Regions from separate parts of the Homo sapiens genome. Here region 2 is linked to region 1. The links are contacts of gene promoters, found by promoter capture Hi-C in human tissues and cell types (Jung and others, 2019). All regions are on one chromosome and are shown on one strand. Each heading gives the region's core, a stretch centred on a gene start or on the middle of the fragment in contact. The rest is flanking DNA. Distances are from core to core; before and after follow the strand shown. Region 1 holds the start of LRRC73 (leucine rich repeat containing 73). Region 2 has its middle 4.8 kb from the start of PEX39.

Region 1 (6,239 bases), core at 2,347-4,846:
CTCGGAGGCAGGGACCATATCTTTATGGGGCTAGTGTAAGGTGTTGCCTCAGAGGCCTGGGTTCTAGGCCTGGCCAGGCCTATTTTGAGATCCTGGACCAGGTCACGCAGCTTAGAGCTTGGGCTGTGCGATGCTACTGCCCCCTAGTGGTGCTTACTGGTAGTTCCAATTCCTCCCCTACTGCCGGCCCCAAGTGACTACAGCCACACGACAGGTTGTGGAGTTCATAAAATCTTTTCCGAGCCAGCGGGTTGCAGCCAGAGCTGCCAAGTTCAAAGGCATTGCCGTGGGTTCAAGTGCCCCCCAAGGCTGTTGCTCAGTCACAGCTTCCAGAGCTTCCTTCCCACCACACTGCCAGGAGCTGCCAGAGCCCCCATGCAGCCCCTGACCCCAGTTCCCTCCCAAGTCCCAGGGCCTGACCCTGATATCTGGGGCAAGGTGCTCGGGACATAGATAAGTGAAATGGTGTGCAGAGGCCCAGTGGAGAGTCACATCTCGGTCTCAGCCAACAGACTGTCCCCTAGTCCTGACGTCATTAGCACCATCTGAGAGCTGGGATCTGTGGAAGGGCAGAGAAGTGTTCAGACCACCATTCCTTCCTCCAATGGGGACCACAGATAGGTGAGAGCCTAGGTTCTGCACACCCACTCTCCCTTGTCCCGAGCCTCTTCCAGACCTGGCTCTGATCAACCCTCTGGGTTCTTACCGCTGGGGCACATCCAGGAGCTGCTGCCTCTCTGGTGGGCAGCAGGCTCCCGCCCTCTCTCCCATTCCTGGGTGTCGCCAGCCCCTCCTGCCACTTCCTCCTCCTCCTCTCCCTCAGAGAGGAGGTCACAGATCTGTTGCTGCAGCTCTGGGCTAATGCTGTTCTCAGCCAACACCAGGCTCCGCAAAGCTGTGGGGTAATTTTCTACCATGTCCAGCAGGGTCTGAAGTGGGGAAGAATATGGAAAAGGATGAACACAGTTAAGGCAGGTCCTCAGACCTCAACCTGCCATGCCTTAGGTATGTCATCAGACACATAAACTAACCTCCACCCCATCCCCTGGCCGTGCCCAAACATGACGACTTCCCACCTGAGCTGACTGGTTGGTGAGCCCTGTGCCCTCCAAGTCTAGGACCTCTAGGGTACGACTAGAGGCCACAGCTACAGCCAGCATTCCTGCCACATGGTCACCTGGGGAGACAACACACGTGCACACATTCATACACATGCCTGCTAATCCTTACAGATAGCTTCCCCATTGCCTTAACAACTTTAGATACTAATCCCTGGCCAAGGAAACATGGACAATTGGTGGTGGTCAGGAAGGGATCATTGTGATTGGTGAGTGAAGGCACGAAGCAAGTTAGGCCCACGGGTGGTGACTGATGTTTTGATCTATTTGTTGGTCACCTGGTCCGCCACAAAGCTATCTCCTTGACCCCTGGGGGCTCCCGTTTCTCTTCCCTCTCCCAGTGTACGGGTTACCATGTCAACTGATGGTCCCAGGCTCTTGGATAGGGCATGAGGCAGTGACAGCCCAAGGGGGTATTCTTGAGCCTCACCCAGGGGGTTGTAATCCAGATTGAGGACGCGGACCTGGGAGCTGTGGGCCACGGCAATGGCAAGGCGGCTCCAGCCCTTAGGGGTGATGCCAGGGTTGGCACTCAGCGTTAGCTCCTTCAAGCCTGGGCAGCATCATAGCAAGAAACCAGAATAGGGAGGGTTAAGCCCTCCTCCAGCCCTTCCCCACAATCCCTGTGTCTCTGGGGTGTCCCTAGTGGCTGGGCACCACCTTACCCCCACCATAGAGGTCAAGAGCCATTAAGGAGGCCCATGCTTCCTCTGCCTGCCCCAGCCTGGATTCCTGAGTCTCCATGCTGCCCCCCGTCCTGCCCCTTCCTGAGAGGAGTAGAAAGATGTTCTCGCCCACATCATCAGAGCTCTGGGGCCACACCCCCTTCCCTCTGCATTTCGATTTTCATCACTGCCACACTAGCCCAAGCCCTCAACAGGGTCCTGCTCACCAGATTTGGCCCCATCTGGGGGCAGGAGGCCACAGATGAGGTTGATGGCTTCATCACCCAGCATGCAGTCCCCCAGGTCCAGAGCCACGAGGGCAGGGTGGAGGGCCAGGGCTGGGTTCAGCAAGGCCAGCCCCGCATCTGTCAGGGGGCTCCCATGCAGGCTGGAGGAGAGTGAGAGAGCAGGGTTACTGCAGTCCTCCGCACTATCTACATGGGAAAGGGGCACTTTCACTTCTGTCAGCCCTAGGTATGGGGAGGGCAGTCACAGCGCTTGAGAGGCCTGGAAAAGGAGAAGGAAAGTTCTAGATTCTCAGGGAATACAGATAGAGGGAGAATTCGGTTTGTTTTCTGGGGCAGGGATCCAGGACATTGCACAGGGAGGGGCAGAGAAGGGGTGGGTGGGTGGTGGACCGGAACTCTGCAGTGGGCAGGGCTCTCGTCCCCACGGGGATATTCCCCCTTGGGAACCAAGGAGCTGCCCCAGTGAAGTAAATGCAGATGATTAGGTGGGGAGGTACGGCCCCCACCTCATGTCAGGAACTGGTGGGTATCCCAACACGGCTAGGGTCGCGCGTGCAAAGTCCAAGCATGTGCTTGGAGGGTGCTGTGAAGGCATGGGCCGAGGCACGGTGTATGTGCATAAGGCATGTGAAGGTAGGATGGTACTGGAAGGAGTGTGGAGGAACAGGAGGTGCCAGGGGAGTGTATGGAAGGGTGCAGTGCCCGGGACCCCCTTGCGAGGGGGCGCACTCACAAGAGGGACTGGATGGAGCGGTTGGTCCGCAGAGCCTCAGCCAGCTGCTTGATGCGGCTGGGGCTGGACACGACGCCCAGGTTAAGGTTGAGCTGCGCCAGGGACGTGGCCCCGGCCAGGGCCCGGCAGATGCGGCCAAAGTCGCGGTCGCAGAGGCGGCAGCCGCGCAGTGAGAGCAGGCGCACGGCGTTGTCGCGAAGGCCGCGGCAGATGTCCCGCACCTCGGCGCCGGACAGCGGCTCCCCCGAAATCTGGATGGAGCTGGGCAGCATCGTGCCCACGGCTGGGCCTCCGGGTACGGGGCCGGAACGGAGGTTGGTGGGGCCGCGGGCGGGGCCGGGGATAGGGCCGGGGTCGGGGCCCCGGCAGGGGTCGCGGGCGGAGTGGGGCCGGGGGTGGAGGCGGCGGCTGTGGCGGAGGCTGCGGCTGCGGCGGAGGCTGCGGCGGGGGCGGAGAAGAGCTACCGGGACTGAGCCGGAGCCGGCCAGAGGTGCGGAGGCGTCCAGGGCGCGGGCCGGGCTGAAGTGGGGCGGCGCTGGGGCGGGGGCGGCCCGCACGGTCCGTGTCTGGGCGTTGGGGCGGGTGCGCGTTCCGGGGGTTGGGCAGGCGCTGCTCGGCGCTTGTCCTTGTCCCTCGCGGTCGCGGCGGCGGCGGCGGCAGCGGCAGCGAGCGGCTCAAGGGCTTCGGCTTACCGGTCTCGGCTAGGAGGCCGTACCCGCTCCCTCCTTCTCTGCCGCCCGGCTCCCCCCGACCACCCCGCGGGCCTGGCCGCACGGCTGGCAGAGAGAGCCTGAGGCGGGCGGCTGGCGGCAGCTCCGGCTCCAGCTCCAGAGAGCGAGCGGGCGGCGAGTTCCCATGGCAACGGCCGCGTCACCGGCGCTCGCCCCGCCCCCTGCCCGGCCAAGGCCACGCCGGCCCGCGAGGTTCGCGTACACTGGGTGGTTCGGGGCAAGGAGCTGGGAGCGATAGGCCGCTCTTCCCTTGGGAGTGGGGTCAGCCAACTGGCAGGCGGCAGGCGGCAGGGCTGAGTGGGTAGGGCTGACGGGGAGCGGAATGGAGGCACGCCCCGTGGAGATGGCGTTGGGCACGGTTACTGCTGCTTCTGCCCATTCTTCCATCCTTCCCCGTTCCTAAGGTCCATACCCCCGCCGGAATCCAGGGCACTGTTCCCTCCTATTTGGAAGGCCCCAGGGCCCTTTCATCCGCGCCGCGCCTCGCTCCCGCCCCCGTGACTCGAGGCGCAGCGTGCGTGGTGATCCCGGCCCATGGGGACTTCCCCGCTTGCTCCTCGCCAAGATGGCGGCCTCATCAGGGAGGCCCCAGGGGCCACGGCTGGGCAGAGCCAGCTTGAGCTGCTGGGGAGAAGGGTACCCCATAGGGTCCCTAGGGCAGGGGAGCCTCAGATAGATGCAAGGTCCTGGTGCCACACCTTCTCAGGTACGCAGGGCACTGTTGACATCTGAGGGTGTGTCCGTGCCGCGAGACTGGGGCAGCCAATACAAAGAAGGTGCCAGGGCCAGGGCCCTGGAGCACTGGTGAGGACGTGAAGGCGGCTGAGCCACACTGCACGGTGCAGGCGGTGCTGTCTCAACTTTGTCCTCTGGCCAGGGTGGTGGGGGACTCACTTGTGTAACGCAGGACAAATGAAGGGCACCTCTGTTTGTCCCTTTGTTAGGAGGGATAGATGCTGCTGACCCAGATTTACTAGTGTTAAGATGATTATTTTACATAAAATATAATATTCAATATAGTGAAGGGAGGTCAAAGGCCCTATTCCCACTCTTAGCCACCTGAATTAACTTATTAAGTGGAGCATATTAAAGAGGTGGTGGGGGTGGATGGTGCTATGTTAGGAGTGGTGGTTGGTTTTAAGAGGAAAGACAGAAAAACTAAAAGGAGCTGGCCCCAGTACCACCAAGGCAAAGCCAAATTTGGCTTCAATTAAGAGCTCCACAGGAAAATTATCAACACAATGCCCAGGTGCAGAAGATCCTTGTTTTGACACGGGGTTTAAGTCGGGATGTTTTGTTCAATTGTCACTGCTTCCTTGGCTTCCCAAGAGAGCAGCTGAGCCCAGACTCAAGCTGGCTGCAGTGTTCCATCAGGCTTATGGCTTTTGTGCTTGAGGCCTCCCTGCCGCTTCATGGGTCAGGTGTGATATTCAATCACTGCCTTCTATGTAGTCTGGCCTGTCCCACCTTTATCTTGCCTGGGTGAGGATATGAAGAAGGGAACATATGACATTACCACTGTTGACTGAGTAGGAAAGTATATAGGAAGCGGGATGACAGGGAGGACCACTGGATCAGCCGCTGCAGTTCCAGACTTCAATCAACATTTTAATTACCAAGTCTATATTTAGCAAGACAATGTGGGAGAGATAAAGAGGAAGGAAGGGGTAGGTGGGGAGGGGTTCTCAAAGGAGCTGACCCATTTTCTGCATTGGCTGCAGAGCCTTGCAGTCCTGGCCAGGAGTTCTTGGCCTTGTGCCTTTCAGAAGTGCCGACAGGCATCAAGGAGGTACTTACGCAGCTACAGCTCAGTGGCAGCTGCAAACCCCATCTACGAAACATGTCATCAGGACTGTCCTTTAATAGTCTTCCTCCTCTCTGCAGCTGCGGGAAAGAGGACTGGCCAAGAATTTCAGGTGGGGTCAGTGTGACTGCAGGGTCACCGCAACAGCTTTGGCTGTGGCGTTGAGGACGGTGGTGGGAAGCCGAGCAGCAGGGAGCATGGCAGGGATGTCTCTGGGGACCCTCTGGATGGGCGGGATGTTGGGGCCCTCCAGTGTGTCCAGGATCCCTGGAAGGAAGATGGAAGGTGAGCGAGGATCAGATGGGCCCAGCCCACCAGCCATCATATCTAGCTTCTTGCTCTAGGCAGCTGCTTTCCCATTCTCCCCCACCCAGACCTTCCTGCCACTTACCCTCTACCACTTTGTGGTAGGCAAAATGCAGATAGAGCAGGAAGAGCATGTGTAGGGCAGCCAGGGTGCCACAGAGGAGCAGCCGCTGTGTGGGGCCCACGGTCCGAGACACCAACACTGCTACCTAGGACCATGAGAATACAGCTCAAAGGGCCTGGCTCCAAAGTGAGGAGTGGGGACAAGACACCCCCACCCAGGGCAGAACCATCTTTGGGCTCTTCCCTCCCATTTAGGGCTCTTTGTGAGATGGACAGCTCCAGGCTGTCTTCCCCAACTCCCTGGGAGGACAGCCCACCCCTGGAAGCCTCTTGCCCAGCTTACCATGCGCAGTGTGGACAGTCCACCCACCAACAGCCAGAAGAGGTAGAAGAGGGCGTGGAGGTGGATATTATAGGTGATGAACAGGACAATGCAATGCCCAAAGAGGCCATAGCCCTGGGAAGGAGGATGGTGGAGAGGAAAATCATTCAGGTTGGGCTGCTTTCTGGCCCCTCATGGGGACCCTGGGAAACACATGGTCCATTGGCCTACTCCTCCCATTCCAGGCTT
Region 2 (6,239 bases), core at 1,938-4,437, 610 kb before region 1:
TAGTAGTCCTCCCCAAAATGCCCAAAAAATGTTCACTCACCACCTAGTCTTGAGGAAATAGAGATCAAAGTGAGAGAGATTCTGCAAAATGATTGGTCTGGACACTTTACAGATGTCGTTGTTATAAAACATTAAGAAAAAGCTAAGAACTACCCCAGATTAAAGGAGACATAAAAAATAAATACAGGCCAGACACAGTGGCTCATGCCTTTAATCCCAGCACTTTGGGAGGCTGAGGTCGGTGGATTGCTTGAACTCAGGAATTCAAGACCAGCCTGGGCAATATAGCAAAACCCCATCTCTACTAAAAAATACAAAAAAAAAAAATTGCTGAACATGGTGGTGGACACCTGTAGTCCCAGCTATTCTGGAGGCAGTGGTCGAAGAATCGCTTGAACCCGGGTAGGTGGAGGTTGCACTGAGCTGTGATTGCCAGCAACTTCCGACTGGGAGACAGAGTGAAACTCTGTCTCCAAAAATAAAATAAAATATAAATAAATAAATAAATTCAATGAGTGATCCTGGATTAGATGCAAGATTGTGTAGGGGAGATCAGCTCTAAAGGACATTTTACCCTTGGGGAAATTTGAATATGATCCATATATTAGATGACAACGATATATCAATGTTAAATTTATCAAGTGTGATAATTGTGGTTATGTGTGGGAATTACCTTGTTCATAGCAAATACATTCTGAAGTATGTAGAGGTGAAGTGTCATGATGACAGAAAGAAAGCAAATGTGGCAAAATTGCTAAGAATTAGTGAATCCACGTGAGGGTTTGAAACTTGTCAAAATAAAAAGTTGGGGTAGGCCCGGTGCAGTGGCTCACGCCTATAATCCCAGCACTTTGGGAGTGGTCAAGGCAGGAGGATCACTTGAACCCAGGAGTTCAAGACTAACCTGGGCAACATAGTGAGACCCCCTCCAAAAACAAAAATTGGCTGGATGTGGTGGCACACACCAGTAGTTCCAGCTACTTGGAAGGCTGAGGCTGGAGTATCACTTGAGCTCAGGAGGTTGAGGCTGCAGTGAGCCAAGATTGTTCCACTGCACTCTAGCCTGAGCAACAGAGACTCTGTTAAAAAAAAAAAAATTGGGGTAGGGGGCACTTGGTAAGAGCTTGAGAAGCCAGTCTGGAGGAAACTGACCATATTGAATGTTGTATAATAAAGAATTTTGAAGGGGTGGCCTGCCCCTCCACACCTGCGGGTATTTCTCGTCAGGTGGGACGAGGGACTAAAAAAAGAAATAAGACACAGAGACAAAGTATAGAGAAAGAACACTGGGCCCAGGAGACCAGCGCTCAGCGTACGGAGGACCTGCACTGGCCCCAGTCTCTGAGTTCCCTCAGCATTTACTGATTATTATTTTCACTGTCTCAGCAAGGGGAATGCAGCAGGAGAACAGGGTGATAGCGGGGAGAAGGTCAGCAAGAAAACATGTGAGCAAAGGAATCTGTGTCACAAATAAGTTCAAGGGAAGGTACTATGCCTGGATGTGCACATAGGCCAGATATATGCTTCTCTCCACCCAAACATCTCAGTGTAGTAAAGAATAACACAGCAGTATTGCCACCAGCATATCTCGCCTCCAGCCACAGGGCGGTTTTCTCCTATCTCAGAATAGAACGAATGTACAATCGGGTATTATACTGAGACATTCCGTTCTCAGGGGCATGCAGGAGACAGAGGCCTTCCTCTTATCTCAACCGCAAGAGGCCTTCCTCTTTTACTAATCCTCCTCAGCACAGACCCTTCACGGGTGTCGGGCTGGGGGATGGTCAGGTCTTTCCCGTCCCACGAGGCCATACCTCAGGCTGTCTCAGTGGGGAGAAACCTTGGACAATACCTGGCTTTCCTGGGCAGAGGTCCCTGTGGCTTTCTGCAGTGCATTGTGCCCCTGGTTAATCGAGAATGGAGAATGGCGATGACTTTTACCAAGCATACTGCCTGTAAACATTTTGTTAACAAGGCACATCCTGCACAGCCCTAGATCCCTTAAACCTTGATTCCATACAACACATATTTCCGTGAGCACAAGGTTGGGGCTAAAGTTACATATTAACAGCATCTCAAGGCAAAACAATTGTTCAGGGTACAGATCAAAATGGAGTTTCTTATGTCTTCCTTTTCTATGTAGACACAGTAACAGTCGGATCTCTCTTTTCCCTACATATCCCCCTTTTTGACAAAACTGCCATCGTCGTTATGGCCCGTTCTTGCTGGTCGCTGTCTCTTCGGAGCTGGTGGATACACCTGTGGACTAACAACAGACAGAACAGGCATACAAGGATTAATATGAAATTTACAATAGTGGAACTTCTGATGGTTTTTAACCAAGTGACAGTGTTAAGATTTGTGAGGCCATCAGTAGCTTTCACGATTGCCTCAGTTCCCAAATTTAAATGGGCTTTCGATGCCTCAAAATTTTGTTATTTTAATTTTGAAATATCTAAAGTAAGATTATCTTCTCTTCCCTGTAGATGGCATCTAACCATGTCCCAGTGATGCTCAGACTCATTATAGGCTTGGGGTGTAATACAAAAATCTGACATATTCCAGTCACACTGTAACTGAAAAAGATATTCCAAGCTCATGAGCCTATTTCCCAGCCAAATGACAGTTTGTCTAAGATCATTAATTTCGTTTGCCAATTTTTGATTTATTTGGGTCTGAGAATTCCACAATTTTGAGGAATTCTTTCGCCAATCATTTACATATTCTGCAGTTTGAACAGAGGAGTGTAAAGCAATTCCAGCAGCTGCAGCAGTAGCTGTGACTGCAATAAGGCCCATAATCACTGCAATCAAAGTAAAAATCTTTTGGATCTAGTTAGAATTCCTTTTAATACTTCCGTTAAAATATGGAAGATGGCGAAGCCTCCCACTGTCGGTCCATGGACACAGGGATCCGCACACCTTCTCTTGCCCTCACTAGCAGAATATGGCGCTGCCAATTAAAAGTCAAATCAATGCAAGTAAACAATCTACAGTTTTCACAGGTTATAGTTTGGGAATCTGGTTTAATAACTATGTTTTCTATAACTAGCATATAAGGGGGTTTTACACAACTTTGTAAAGGAATTGTCAGATTGGAATTTAGGTTGATAGTATAATATGGCTTACGATTTCTTGTTTCTGTAGCTTGATTTCCAGACCAAATTCTAATGTAGTGCGAGGCCACAGTAAGCTTCCATAATTTTGGATGTTTAGGACCAGTAACAGGACTAACTAACTTTGGTCGAGGTGATGAAATTCCCTTTTCACCCCATTTCCAGGGATAGGGTGATTCTAGCCTTCTATAAACCTGGTCCAGCCTTTCAATTAAATCACTATCATAGGCCGGATTAATGGGCCAGATGGATGGGGCCTGTAAACATGAGTGAGTCTGGCCCATACAATTATATATAATATAATTGTATATAATATAATATAATATATAACTATTATATAATATTATAGTAGTTCCAAATTCATTGTTTTGTAATACCACCGCAGTATTAGCCACACATTCTTCCCAAACTAAGGCTTCTGGGCTTTTTGATTCTTTGGGAATTTCCTTGGGGCAAGGCTTCCCCTTAGGCCCAGATTTTAATGATCTTTGATAAGAAGCGTCCTCTAAATTATTTATCTGTGGCCCGAGTGACATTCCACTTACCATGTGATAAGTAAATTTACTGGTGGCACTGACGGTAGGTACTTCTACCAACCAGTTTTGGGTTGTAGGCATTAAACATCCTGGTGCCTTCCCTAGGCAAATAGGAGGATAATGATACCCAGTGGAAACATTTATCATCATTCCTTCTTCTTTAGGTTGGGCAGGGCAACAATCGTCTGTGGGGCCTGGTACCCATGCCCTATTATTAACATATACTTCAACAGGATTATCCATCCATGTGACTGCCCAAATTAAGGGTGGGAAAGGCACATAGGCACAGTAAGTATAATTAGTTGCAGCTGCTCCTGCAGACATGGGGAGACTTACTACCGTTGATATAATAATCAAAGCTGTAAGCAGTATATTCTCTGGAGTTCACATTACCCTTGTGTTCTTTAGGCTTTTTTTAGCTAACTGTGTCAGCTTCTTTAATTGGGCCCAAGTCGGTGGCTCCGCTTCCTTGGTGGATGGCAACTTCATCTGTTCTTCTGATATCACCATTTTATTTACCTGGCGAGTCGATGATGCTCAATTGAGGGTTTTTTGTCTCCGCAGAGGCGCTTTTCTTCGCATCTCCAAGGGGTTCATTGTAGAACTTTAAATTTCTAGTGGGTATCCAACCAGGAAGCTGATTTTCTCCTTGTGAAACACAAGCAAAGCCTCTCTCCCATGTTATCACCTTCCCTATTTCCCATGTCTTATTTTTCTTGTCTTTCCACCAAATCAGTTTTCCTTCATGTGGGCTATTCTTTTTACCAGTAAAATGTTGTTCTGCAGAAGTAGTGGTTTGATTTCTATAAATGTTTAAAAAATTTAAAGTATAGAGTGCTAGATTAAGTTGCATCTGGGGAGTGTTATACTCCTTACTGTCTTTTTTCCTTTTTTTGTTTAACCAATTGAGCTTTGAGTGTTCTATCAGTTTTTTCAATTATGGCCTGTCCTTGGGAATTATAAGGGATTCCTGTTGTATGTGTAATTTTCCACTGATTTAAGAATTTTTGAAATGTTTTACTACAGTATCCTGGCCCATTATCCGTTTTAATTTTTTCTGGAACTCCCATGACAGCAAAACAAGATAATAAATGTCTTTTAACATGGGAAGTATTTTCTCCTGTCTGGCAGTTTGCCCTTACAAAATGTGAATAAGCATCAACTGTCACATGGAGAAATGACAATTTTCCAACTGAAGGTACATGTGTGACATCCATTTGCCATAACGCATTAGGACACAGACCTCTGGGATTAACTCCTGCCTCCTGAGTGGGCAGGTGTGGAATCTGACACTGGGTGTAATGTTGTACAATATTTTTTGCCTGTTTCCATGTGATGTCAAATTTATTTTTTAGTCCTGTTGCATTTACATGAGTCAAGGCATGAAGTTCTTGTGCTTCCAGGAATGCAGATGATACTAGCAAGTCAACTTGTTCATTTGCTTTAGTTAAAGGCTCTGGTAAATTAGTATGTGCTCGAATATGAGTAACATAAAATGGGAAATTTCTTTTTCTTACAGTTTGTTGTAACATATTAAACAGCTGGTTTAACTGATCATCTATACTATATTTGATTAGGGCTGTCTCAACATCCTTTGTAGCCTGTACTACATATGCAGAATCTGATACAATGTTAATAGGCTGATTAAAATCTTGTAACACTGTAATGACAGCAACCAACTCTGCTCTTTGAGCCCAGTGATATTGAGTTTCAATGAGTCGTTCTTTTGGCCTGGTGTAAGCCGCTTTTCCATTGCTGGAACCATCAGTAAACACTGTCAGAGCATTTTCTAAAGGTTTATGTCTAGTAATTTTAGGTAAAATCCAAGTAGTCAATTTTAAAAACTGGAAGATTTTTGTTTTTGGGTAATGATTGTCAATAATTCCCACAAAATCAGCAAGACCAATCTGCCATGCACCAGAATTGATAAAGGCTTGTCTAACCTGTTCCTTGTTTAAAGGAACAATGATTTTATCTGAGTCACTTTCACACAATTTTATTATTCGTAATCTTGCCTGACCAATTAATGTAGCCATTTGATCCAAGTACAATGTAAAAGTCTTAATTGTACTATGAGGAAGGAAGAACCACTCCACAAGATCTGTATTTTGAGCAATAATGCCTGTTGGAGAATGTGCAGTAGCAAAAATCAAAAGTTGGAGTGGGGCTAAGTGATCTATTCTATTTACTTGTGCTGACCGAATTTTTTCTTCAACTAATTCAATTTCTTTAGTTGCTTCTGGAGTTAATGTTCTTTTACTATTCAATTCTGGATCCCCTCTTAAGATAGAGAACAAATTTGACATGGCATAAGTAGAGATGCCTAGAGTTGGCTGAATCCAATTAATATCTCCTAGCAATTTTTGAAAGTCATTTAATGTTTTTAATGTGTCTTTTCTTATTTCTATTTTTTATGGTTTAATTTTCGTTTCCTCCACCTGCATTTCCAAGTAATGGAAAGGAGTAGAGGTTTGAATCTTATCAGATGCTGTCGTCAGTCCTGCGTTTGCAACCTCTGTCTGCAGAAATGTGTAACAGTCAATTAATTTGTCTCTCCTTTCTGTAGCACACAAAATATCATCAACATA

What was found. The method cuts DNA at HindIII sites, captures the fragments that hold promoters and counts their contacts. A contact is called where the count stands out against the background at its distance.
Region 2: a contact is called between a fragment that was not itself captured here and the fragment with the promoter of LRRC73 in region 1, in 1 of the 25 tissues and cell types used here (dorsolateral prefrontal cortex).

What each region holds. Positions count from the first base shown.
Region 1 is chr6:43,506,750-43,512,988 of GRCh38, forward strand. LRRC73 (leucine rich repeat containing 73) reads right to left here and starts at 3,597. Exons shown (of 6, transcript NM_001012974.4): 1 at 2,765-3,597; 2 at 2,011-2,171; 3 at 1,549-1,671; 4 at 1,077-1,177; 5 at 707-929; 6 at 219-559. The coding sequence starts at 3,036. The coding sequence ends at 489. YIPF3 (Yip1 domain family member 3) reads right to left here. Exons shown (of 9, transcript NM_015388.4): 7 at 6,012-6,125; 8 at 5,691-5,814; 9 at 5,083-5,566. The coding sequence ends at 5,418. RefSeq lists silencers at 3,175-3,444, 3,465-3,754. The HindIII fragment of the contact is 5,504 bases long and covers 1-4,283 here.
Region 2 is chr6:42,892,490-42,898,728 of GRCh38, forward strand. No RefSeq gene overlaps it. Among named protein-coding and RNA genes, the nearest start is that of PEX39, 4.8 kb to the left of the region's middle. The HindIII fragment of the contact is 6,847 bases long and covers 1-6,239 here.